2 separate regions of the Homo sapiens genome follow, and region 1 is linked to region 2. Evidence: promoter capture Hi-C in human tissues and cell types (Jung and others, 2019). All regions are on one chromosome and are shown on one strand. Each heading gives the region's core, a stretch centred on a gene start or on the middle of the fragment in contact. The rest is flanking DNA. Distances are from core to core; before and after follow the strand shown.

Region 1 (5,673 bases), core at 2,787-5,286, 77 kb before region 2:
AAAGGCCCATTCACTATTTCAAGAGGTGGTGTCATCCGCTCATGTTGTCACTGAAGGAGCATTCTGAGCCAGGGCACAGTCACTTCCTAGTGAGCTACAGAGGCTGAGAGAAAAATGCTCTGTGAGACCCAACAGGAAGCTCCCTGCAGTGCAAGGTGTGGGTGGCAGGGAGCGCTCGGGCCTCCCCGCAGCACAGACTTGCAGCCCAAGAGCAGGTGCACAGGAGGCTGGGGAGGGGTTCCTCCCAGGGGTTGATGTCTTCCTTTTCTTGAACAAACATGCTTTAATAAGTTAAACAAGAATTTAGTAAAGACTATTTGTAGGATTTATCTAACCTAACAAGTCAATGAGAATCACATTTAAAAGGAGAAATTTCTAGGATTTTCAGATATCTTAATAGTTAGGAGATGGAGAAAAGGGATAGTTTTATTAATTCAGTGCTTGCCAATCTTAGCAGAGACAGTAGTAAGACAGGCAGAAAGCAAAGCCCAGAAAAGTATGAAGGTGTCAAAGTGCCATTTAAGTATGGGTTCACTTGGAGGACCATGTTTTGTGGGAACTTGTTTTCAGCAGAGACAATTTATTTTAGCAGAGTTCTGGGCATACAAGGGGACACACATCATTAAACAAGGATTAGGACAGGGCTTCAGCGTCCCACTGTTGCATGGCCCATAAATAATGTGTGTTCTCTTTCTCATCTTGGATCAAGTCTAGAGCTATGAAGCTATGAAATAGTACCCCTCATGAATATGCAAATAACCTGAGATTTACTGAAGTAAATACAGATCTGTCCTTGCCCTGAGAGCATCACCCAACAACCACATCCGTCCTCTAGAGAATCCCCTGAGAGCTCAGCTCCTCACCATGGACTGGACCTGGAGGATCCTCTTCTTGGTGGCAGCAGCTACAGGTAGGAGGCTCCCTAGTCCCAGTGATGAGAAAGAGATTGAGTCCAGTCCAGGGAGATCTCATCCACTCCTGTGTCCTCTCCACAGGTGCCCACTCCCAGGTGCAGCTGGTGCAGTCTGGGGCTGAGGTGAAGAAGCCTGGGGCCTCAGTGAAGGTCTCCTGCAAGGCTTCTGGATACATCTTCACCGACTACTATATGCACTGGGTGCGACAGGCCCCTGGACAAGAGCTTGGGTGGATGGGACGGATCAACCCTAACAGTGGTGGCACAAACTATGCACAGAAGTTTCAGGGCAGAGTCACCATGACCAGGGACACGTCCATCAGCACAGCCTACACGGAGCTGAGCAGCCTGAGATCTGAGGACACGGCCACGTATTACTGTGCGAGAGACACAGTGTGAAAACCCACATCCTGAGAGTGTCAGAAACCCCAGGGAGGAGGCAGCTGTGCTGGGGCTGAGAAATGAAAGGGATTATTATTTTTAATGTTGTTTACAGTATGTCATTAATAAATTGAAAAAAGTAACAATAGAAGTATATACTCTAATTATATGGGAAGTTTGTTTTTTCAGTTTTTTGGTGTTTTTTTTTTTTTTTTTGGTTTGTTTGTTTGTGACAGAGTCTCACTCTGCCACCCAGGCTGGAGTGACACGGCAAAGTCTCAGCTCACTGCAACCTCCACCTCCCAGGTTCAAGCAATTCTCCTGCCTTGGCCTCCAGAGTAGTTGGGATTACAGGCACCCGCCACCACGCCCGGCGAATTTTTGTATTTTTAGTAGAGACGGGGTTTCACCATGTTAGCTAGGCTGGTCTCGAACTGCTGATCTCAGGTGATCTACCCTCCTCAGCCTCCCAAAGTCCTGGGATTACAGGTGTGAGCCACTGCGCCTGGCCCAATTATATGGGAATTGTTTATATAATTATCACCCTATAAGCAAAATTCATGGAGGAGGAAAAGCTCTACTGAAGAAAGCTGATACCGGCATTCCCATGAAAGTATCTGTGTAGAAGTAAGTATTAAAATCAGTTGAATAGGTGAGGCACGGTGGCTCATGCCTATAATCCCAGCACTTTGGGAGACCGAGGCAGGTGGATCACAAGGTAAGGAGTTCAAGATCAGCCTGGCCAAGATGGCGAAACCCCTTCTCTACTAAAAATACAAAGAATTAGCTGGGCGTGGTGGTGGATGCCTGTAATCACAGCTACTTGGGAGGCTGAGGCAGAGAATTGCTTGAACCAGGGAGGCGAAGGTTGCAGTGAGCCGAGATCGCGCCACTGCACTCCAGCCTGGGTGACAGAGCGAAACTCCATCTCAAAACAAAACAAAACAAAACAAAACAAAAAAATCAGTTGAATAAAGTACCTTAGAGTCATCTGTTCAATTAACATGTTTAACTCCAAAGAAATCATGAAAATATTTTCCAAAAAGGAAGTGCCATTTTATGTTCCTACCAACAGTGAATAAGACTTTCTTTTCTGGAGCCTTGTCAGTATTCACCAATGCTTTGCTGTGCAGCCATTGTAATATTATAGTAAATGAGTAGCAGTATTTAATGGTTGTTTAAATATACATATTCCTAATACAAAGTCTTGATGAACACTTTTTTATACATTGTTTTACGAGGTGCGTGTTCAGATCTATGTATGCCAGAAATGCCTGGCAGCATTAATTTAAGCACACTGTGAGAATGACCCTATAGTTTAAGAAGAATGTATGTTCAGAGCTCTGAGCTAAGAAATCCAGGAGCTGTCCACCCAGAAGTTTATTCCTTGTCTGTGAAGGACGTCTGAAGCCCTGGCCTATCCCTTGGAACACAGGATGTCCAGGTGATTGAGGCTCTTTGTTAAATCTGGAGGTTGCTAGGTAGAGGGTGCTAAGTGAAAATCATAATATAAACTACACATGTTTTACAAATGGTAGTGGTTTTCCTGTCCAACACACTCTTCCTGGGCCACATTGTATGGAAGTCCTCAATACACCCTAGATCTTGTTCATGGGCTCCAGGTCTCCTCTTTAGCCTTTTGGACATGGTGCCACGCCTATTACAGTCAATAGGGGTCTAGCATGACAATTGGGAGGCCCAGAACAAGGTCAAAGAAAATCCCACAAGTTCTTAGACAACGGTGTCAAGGAAGGGGAGACCTGTGGGGAAATCCCAGGCAGGCCATGCACATCTCTGTGGGCCCAACAGCTGCAATCCTTGATGGATAGGGCCTGCTGCAAGTGTACAGGGATGCCTCCAAAATGCCAAAAGTTCTGGAGGACCTGTTGCCTGAGGTGGATGTGACAATGTGACAAAGTGACAGTCAGATGCCTGAGCTGTCGCAGCTGTTGGCCACTCCTGACTGCACTCTGAGCAACCACTGAGGCAGAGCTCACTGCACAGGCTAGGGTGTGTCAGCCACAAGAACAGCTGTAACTATAATGAGATGCCGCCTGCAGGGATAGGATAGCAAATTGGAGACCATTGTTTATTTGGTAGGCCATTTAAAGTGTTGCCGACTGCCACACCAATGCGTTAGGACTATTATGACTACATCGTCCTGGAAGCCTAAGTCCTGGTGTCCGATGTAGAGCTCCAGTGGGAAGGAGATGAAGGTTAGGATGACTCCATAAAGGTTCTTGCCCTGCAGCCCCTGCTTTGCTGTCTCACTTGGTGAACAGAGGATGGGGGGGTCAATGCAGACAAAGTCCAGGGTCTAGGCTTATCAGTCAAATACTTGGTGTCATCTGGTTACATAAGACTATAGTTATTCCATATTTCATTATAGATAAGATAAGATGCAGGTCTACTCATGTCCCAACACACCAAAGCAGTTGGAAACCTTCCAAGGCCTCCTGGGACATTGGCGATCCTTTATTCCCCATTTCGGCAAACTCCTTAGGCCCCCATGGCACTTAGTCAAGAAGGTGCCCCACTGCGACTGTTCCAAAAGGGAGGATGAGGGCTCTGAAGAAGCTAAAGTCACAGTGAAATGAATACAAACCTTGGGAGTTCTAGTGCAGGGACAGCCCTGTGAATTGGATGTAGTCAGTTACCCTGAGGGGTTTAGGTGGGGACTGTGTTAAAGGCAAGGACATAAGTGTGTGTCCCTAAGACCCTGGTCTCAAAGACAGAAGGAAGCTGAAGTGAGATATACTGTTTAGGAGTAACAACCGCACTACATGTCATGCCTTACAAGTGGAGGATGTGACAGAGGGCCACTCCACATCCAGAACAACCTTTAGCAGGCTGGCTAAAGGATGCCTTCCAGACACAAAAGCCTTGGAATACCAGGACACAGTCTGTAGCCAAATGGTACTTGTGGTGGTCACCACCAACATAAAAGTGGGCCAACTGTGCCAGCAGAAGTTAGCCCCACAGAACTTTCCCCCACCTAAGAGAAGGCAGTGAACCACGATGTGGGATGCCACCACTGTGGAATTGGGGGAGCTTAGACTTGGATTCAGACACAAGGGGAGAGAGTGGATCACAGGGTGGCTTCTCTATGGGACAGGGGGTGGAGAGTGTTATACTTTCTGGACTCAAGATGAGTAAAATGGCACCCATCACAAACCATCCAGCCCTATGATGGCACCTTTATGGTAAGTGGTTGCAGGCTCCAGCGGGGCCAGGTCCAATGAGGAAGATGCCCACACAGCTCCTTCTCAATGGCAGACTATAGAAGAGTTGCAGGACATCTTCTGGGAGTTGAAATGAGGCATGCTAATTATGCTGAGAATTATTGAAGTCCCAACAATGAATTGTTTACTGCAAAATAAAAGCTACAATTATGTATTCAGTGCCTACCAAATGGCATGGTGCACTGATTTCCATGTTAAGCCCCCTGGGAGGGCAGCCAACATTTCATGTGCCCCAGGTAGTTGCTGACTTAGGAGAAAAGAAGAAACTGAGTAAGCAAGGGATGCACCCTACTGTGATGAAAAACAATGGCACCAAAGGAAGAGAGACAGCCAAGGAGCCAGTCAGCGTGGCCAGACAACAAATGTGCTCTAACTGGCAACACCTACCAGTTATCTGGGCCCATAGCAGCAATAGGTGATTATGGAAGGGCCACAGAAGTCAGACAGGTTGAACTAGTGATACGACCTGGGGGACTGCCACCCAGACCCTGTTTAGTATACATAGCTTCCATCTTAGAACACATGAGAATGGATATCTTCTTAGGCGTGACCCTCCAAACAACTGCCAGGGAATTCCAACTGAGAGTTAAAGTGGTGACGCATGTGACCAAGCAGAAGGCAAACTGGATGCCGGTAGAGCTGCCAACCCATGGGGAGTCCCACAGCTGGAGCAACACCACCCGCCCTGGGGAGGGGAAGATGATCCAATCATGAAGATTGTTAAGGAGTTAGCCCAGGTAGGCATTAGGAGGCCACTGCACAGTTCCTACAACAGACCTGCATGGCCCATGCAGAGGCCAGTTGGGACATGGAGAATGACAGTAGATTACTGGGAGTTAAATAAGGTGGTCTCCCGAGTGAATGCAGCTGTTCCTAATATCTCCTCCAGTCTGACGAGAATAGGAGAGGTGTTAGCCACATAGCATTTCGTTATCAGTTTAGTCAATACCTTCTTCAGCATTTCTGCTGCCCCACATTCAAGATCAATTTGCATTAACCTAAAAAGAACAATGGACTTTTACTGTCTTGTTCCAGGGATATTTACACAGCCCAACTCTCACAGCCTAGTGACCTCCAACCTCAGTTGATGGGCTGACCCAAAGGGGATACATGTTTTCCACTACATTGGTGTTATCA
Region 2 (5,133 bases), core at 67-2,566:
CTCAATAAACAATTAGTTAAAATGTACTTTAGCAGATTATTATATCTCAAATTCTAATAATGATCTGTTGGGAATTTCAGGGTAGGTGTGAGTAAATTTATTTTCATCTTAATGCCTCTATTTTTTCAATATAAAGAGGAATGAATAGAGAAAAATTATAGTAAAATTTTAATAACACAAATGAAAGGAGGAAGTCAATGCAGCATTATTACTGCAAATACTTCCTGCTTTAGGACAATGATCCTCAGGGGAACTATAAAATGTATAATTTATCTTTCACTTCTCTTTACACAAAATATATTTGGTGACCAACTTCCTCATGGCTGCCTTTACTTCCTTGTTTCTCAATGTGTAAATAATGGGATTACGTAAAGGGAATATTAAAGTATTGAACACAGACACCACTTTATCTAGGGAAAACGAGTCAAATGGGCGAGCATAAATGTAGATGGATGGCCCAAACATTAGCACCACAATGGTAATGTGGGAATAGCAGGTGGACATGGCCCTGTTGGTATTCTCACCTGAGCCTGAAAGTTTCTTGAACAAGGCCAGAAGGAAGGCATAGGACATTAACAGAGCAATCAAACACACCACAGAGATCAGACCACTACTACAGATCATCACTAACTCCTCTGGGAAGGTGTTGGCACAGGCAATCCGGACAACCTGTGTGATGTCACAGAAGTAACTGTCTAACTCATTGGGCCCACAGAAAGGAAGTCGAACAATGAGAGCCACCTGTATGATAGAATGAATGAAGCCCCCCCTCCAGGAGAGAGCCACCAGGATACAGCAGAGACGTTGATTCATGATGGTAGCATAGTGGAGGGGTCGGCAGATAGCAGTGTAGAGGTCAAAGGCCATCACTGTGAGCAAGAACATCTCCGAAGCCCCAGCAAAGTGTAAGAAGAAGAGCTGTGCAATGCATCCATCAAAAGAAATTATCTTCCTCTCCACAAAGAAGTCTATGAGCATTTCAGGGGCTGTAATGGAAGAGTACCAAATATCAAGGAAGGCCAGATTAGCCAACAGGAAATACATAGGAGAGGTCAGATGAGGGTCTAGACTGATGGTGCAAATGATAAGGATATTTCCTGGTAGGATGAACAAATAGAAGGATAGAAATATAACAAATAGGACTAGTTGGACCTCTGGAGTCTGGGATAGGCCAGTGAGAACAAATTCTGTCACCTTGGTGTAATTTGCAGTTTCCATTTCTTCAATTTACTCTTTTCATAATATAGCTATGAAAATTAAGAAACTATAATTAGTAGACATAGCATTTACCTAGAGTTATATCACTGCTTTCAAAATTGTCATACGTTCCCTGTCACTAACAGATTACACGAGGATACATTTGGTTGCCCATTTTATATCTGATAAACCAAGAGGGAGAGAGTATGTGATGAAGTTACAAATTGGAAACATTAAAACTATATGAAGTGTGGCATATATTTGAAACTCAAATCTCAGCTTGTTAATGTTAAAAACTTACTTTTTCTGAAATTTGGCAATGCACTACTTCTTCCCCCAAACATCTACATTAGTAAGCAATATGTGAAGCTACTTCTGAGTGTAGCCAAATTTTAGACTGGCAATCAGAGATGTGGCCTCTTTTTTCTATATCTTTTTTTTTGTTGGGAAATCTTGCCAACTTGGAAACTTAGGCTTGCATTCTAATAGCACACACACAGATCTAGCAGTACTTTAGTTGTGATACAGAAAAGAGATCCCAAGGCTTCATAAGTAGTGAAGGGACATATTTTTCCGTAACTGTAACCAAAACCTGTACAGCTTAATCCTTGGTAACAGGTAACCAGCCACAACATACAGCTATGCAAGGCCCTATATAAAAAATTCTTCTAGCTGTGACCAGATTCATCAATACCTGATACTACATTGAGTATAAAATTTGCTCACCACAGCAGGAACGTAAGTAGGTGTACTGATCTGAGAAATGAGTATGCTTGCTACCCAATTTGATTCTGAGCTGATCTGCTCTGCTGTTTCAAGGTGACAATGGGAATAATATTATTTTTAAAATTTTGCTTACTGCCCTGTATTGAATCTGACACCACTAATAGCACAAAACTTGTCAAATAAAAATGAAATAACAGTTCACATTACCAAATATGCTTTTCTTTAAGTAAGGTTAAAAACTGCCACACCAAAGTAAGTTTTGTTGTAACCAACAGCAAATACAAGAGAGTTGTTTCTTTTCTGTTGATGTGATATTTTATGATATTGCCTCTCCTATTACTTAAAAAAATTAAATATGAAAAGGAATTTTTAAAAAGTTAAGGTTCTGTAAAACCAAATAGACGTGGCTGTGTCCAAACACTTATGGGCACTATGTATACTACTGAGAAAAGAAATTAAATGCGCCATTTTTGGAACCTACTGACTCAATTTACACATAATTTTAACAAACATAGATAAATGACTTTCAATATCTTATAGAAGCATTGTATTTTGAAAAAGGGATGGCTTACTACAAGCAGACACACACACATAAAACCAGTGTTTTCCAGGAATCTGGTAGCAAGCGGAAGAAAGGTAAAAATACTCAGAAATTGAATAGTGTGGGACTATTTAGAAAAGGGATCAATTTCCCCTTGTCCATAAATTGCCCAGTGTGGACCTCAGTGAGTTAATGAAGCATATTTAATAAGATTGAAAAATTTAAAATTTGGTTTAGGAAGATTTTAATCAAAAGAAAGATAATAAGGTTATCCAGAATGAAATATTTCCTAACATTCCAAGAAACAATGATCTTATTGTACTTACCTGGAGGAGGCAGCTCATAGCCCTCATAACTAATAACACAACATTGTGTTATTAGTTATGAGGGCTATGAGCTAGTTATATACTAACTCATTTACATTCACTGATAAGTCAACTATGAGGTTCCAACAATCAAATAAATTTCTAACAAAAGCATCTGAAATATTATGATTACTCAGCTCATTTACATATTTTGCTATAATGCTATGTAGTTTTTGACCAGATGGAAGCGATTATTTGTTCCTAAGTAAATAATTGTCCCTTTATTATTGAAAGGAGATGAATATTTTAAAGCAGTAAATACCATTACAAGATCATATGCTTTTTTATTATTATGGGGACATGATGCAATGATTCTGAGTGTCATCACACAAATCACCCCTTCTTCCTCTGCTCTACTCCATACCCATTCCACCAAAACAGAAGTAGAAAATGGCACTAATCTAGAAAGAATTTATGTGAATGAGTGTTGATGTCTTGAAAAGACAGACATACATCAGGTATTATGGAATAGAAAGGGTGATTTTACCAGAAAAAAGTGTCAAAGAGATTTTCTTTTGTACCTCAGTGTTCAACATATGACATAAAATTAGAAACTAATGATGTATATACTTTGCATTAAGAACCAAAATCAACCACATTTATTCCTTAGGACAAAAATACAAAGGATTCATCCCTCCACACTCCTTGATGAGTGTCTCTGTCCTCCACCCTTCACAAGTGTCAAGTGGAAAAGAAATATTTTGCTGGAGCATCTCAATCCAATAGTCAGGCAGCCAATCAAACCCCCTACTCCCAAAGCTAGTAATGCTCAGCCACTACTCATCACACACACACACACACACACACACACACACACACACACACACCACTACACCATGTCACTTCAAGGAAGAACAAGCACCTAGTTTCCCTACATTAACATAACCATTACCTAAAATACCATAAATGACGCAACAATTCTTATTCTGTCCAGCACTTGTCATTTAACACATGTCAAAACAAAGCTATCTACATGTGATATTAAAAAGTCTATTCCTAAATATATAGCTTCTGTGTCACTTCTGTAAACTATTCATTTGTTTATCCCACAAACATTTAGAGAGTATCTACTATATGCTACCTGCTGAGACACAACAATGAACAAGGAACACTCAATATCTGCCTCATCAAACTTCCATTCTGAAAATATAGACAGACAATAAATAAGTAAACAAATAAAAATAAAATAAAATATAAATAAGTAAAATAAAATAATTGCTACTAGTGCTAAAAGACAAGCAGGAAATAAAAAGGCAATGGTAGAGTAAATAATGATGGGAGTGGTATGTGTGTGATGGAGTATTTTAGAAAAGGTTCTGAGTTGGTGACGTTTTTCTAACTTTGAAAGTTTGAAGAAAAGCATTTTAGGAATAGAGAATAGTAAATGAAAAGGCCTTGTGTCATGAAAGACTTTCTAAGAACTGTAGAAGACCCACAACTGGTAGAAGCATAAGAACAAAATAAAGAGTTAGTCAAAGACCAAGTAATGTAGCCCACAATAATAAAATTGGATTTCCAATTTTCTTTCAATATGTTTTACAATAAAACTCGGGAGAATAGCTTAATACAATTTGCAATTTAGAAATATCACCCTGGCTGCTATGTGAATAAATCAGAGTAAGACAACATTACAAGAATATATATATATATATATATATATATATATATATATATATATATATATATGGCTTAAACTAACAATACAGCAATAACTATTTGAAGAGAATAATAATTTGTTTAGAAAATATTTAGGAGATGCAACTCCAGGGTTTATCAATGGATCATATGTTGCTATTGTCATAGTACCAAAGGCAGCTGGAATTTGAACTCCACAATGGCAATTTAAAAATATTGTTTTCCTATCTTCTGTGTCTAAAATGAGGTTCATCCAGCCCATACCACGTCCTTAATAAAATTGGGCTAAATAAACTATACATACTTGGGTATGCACTGTAACACCCCAAGAAAAGCTGGGAATTGTACCAAAAAAACCCAAAGCAAGCAATTATGTTTATGGGAAATTCTTGGGGGAGATAAGCCACTCATGAAGATTGACTTAGGGCATTTTTTTCTAAGGTTGCCATTGAGGAGGGGATGACTATTCCAAATCAGTCCTTACTCTTAGAGCAGTGGTTGGATAAGTTCCTTAAGAAGATTTACTTCATCTTACATCCACCCACCTACTCCTCCTAAGCTTCTGCTCCTCTTTTAACAACATCTAGAAAATTCCCATTCTTAATCTACAGGGATGTAGTACCTAGAGGATGACTATGGAAATACCTAGGAGTACAGGTGCATTCCCTG

What was found. The method cuts DNA at HindIII sites, captures the fragments that hold promoters and counts their contacts. A contact is called where the count stands out against the background at its distance.
Region 1: a fragment that was not itself captured here is called in contact with the fragment with the promoter of OR4M2 in region 2 in 4 of the 25 tissues and cell types used here (bladder, dorsolateral prefrontal cortex, heart right ventricle and 1 more).

The regions. Positions count from the first base shown.
Region 1 is chr15:22,156,060-22,161,732 of GRCh38, reverse strand. It overlaps the pseudogene IGHV1OR15-1. Among named protein-coding and RNA genes, the nearest start is that of OR4N4, 64 kb to the right of the region's middle. The HindIII fragment of the contact is 9,231 bases long and covers 1-5,673 here.
Region 2 is chr15:22,076,710-22,081,842 of GRCh38, reverse strand. OR4M2 (olfactory receptor family 4 subfamily M member 2) reads right to left here and starts at 1,316. Exons shown (of 1, transcript NM_001004719.2): 1 at 233-1,316. The coding sequence starts at 1,218. The coding sequence ends at 277. All of the region lies in intron 7 of OR4M2-OT1 (OR4M2 overlapping transcript 1), which reads right to left. The HindIII fragment of the contact is 6,887 bases long and covers 1-5,133 here.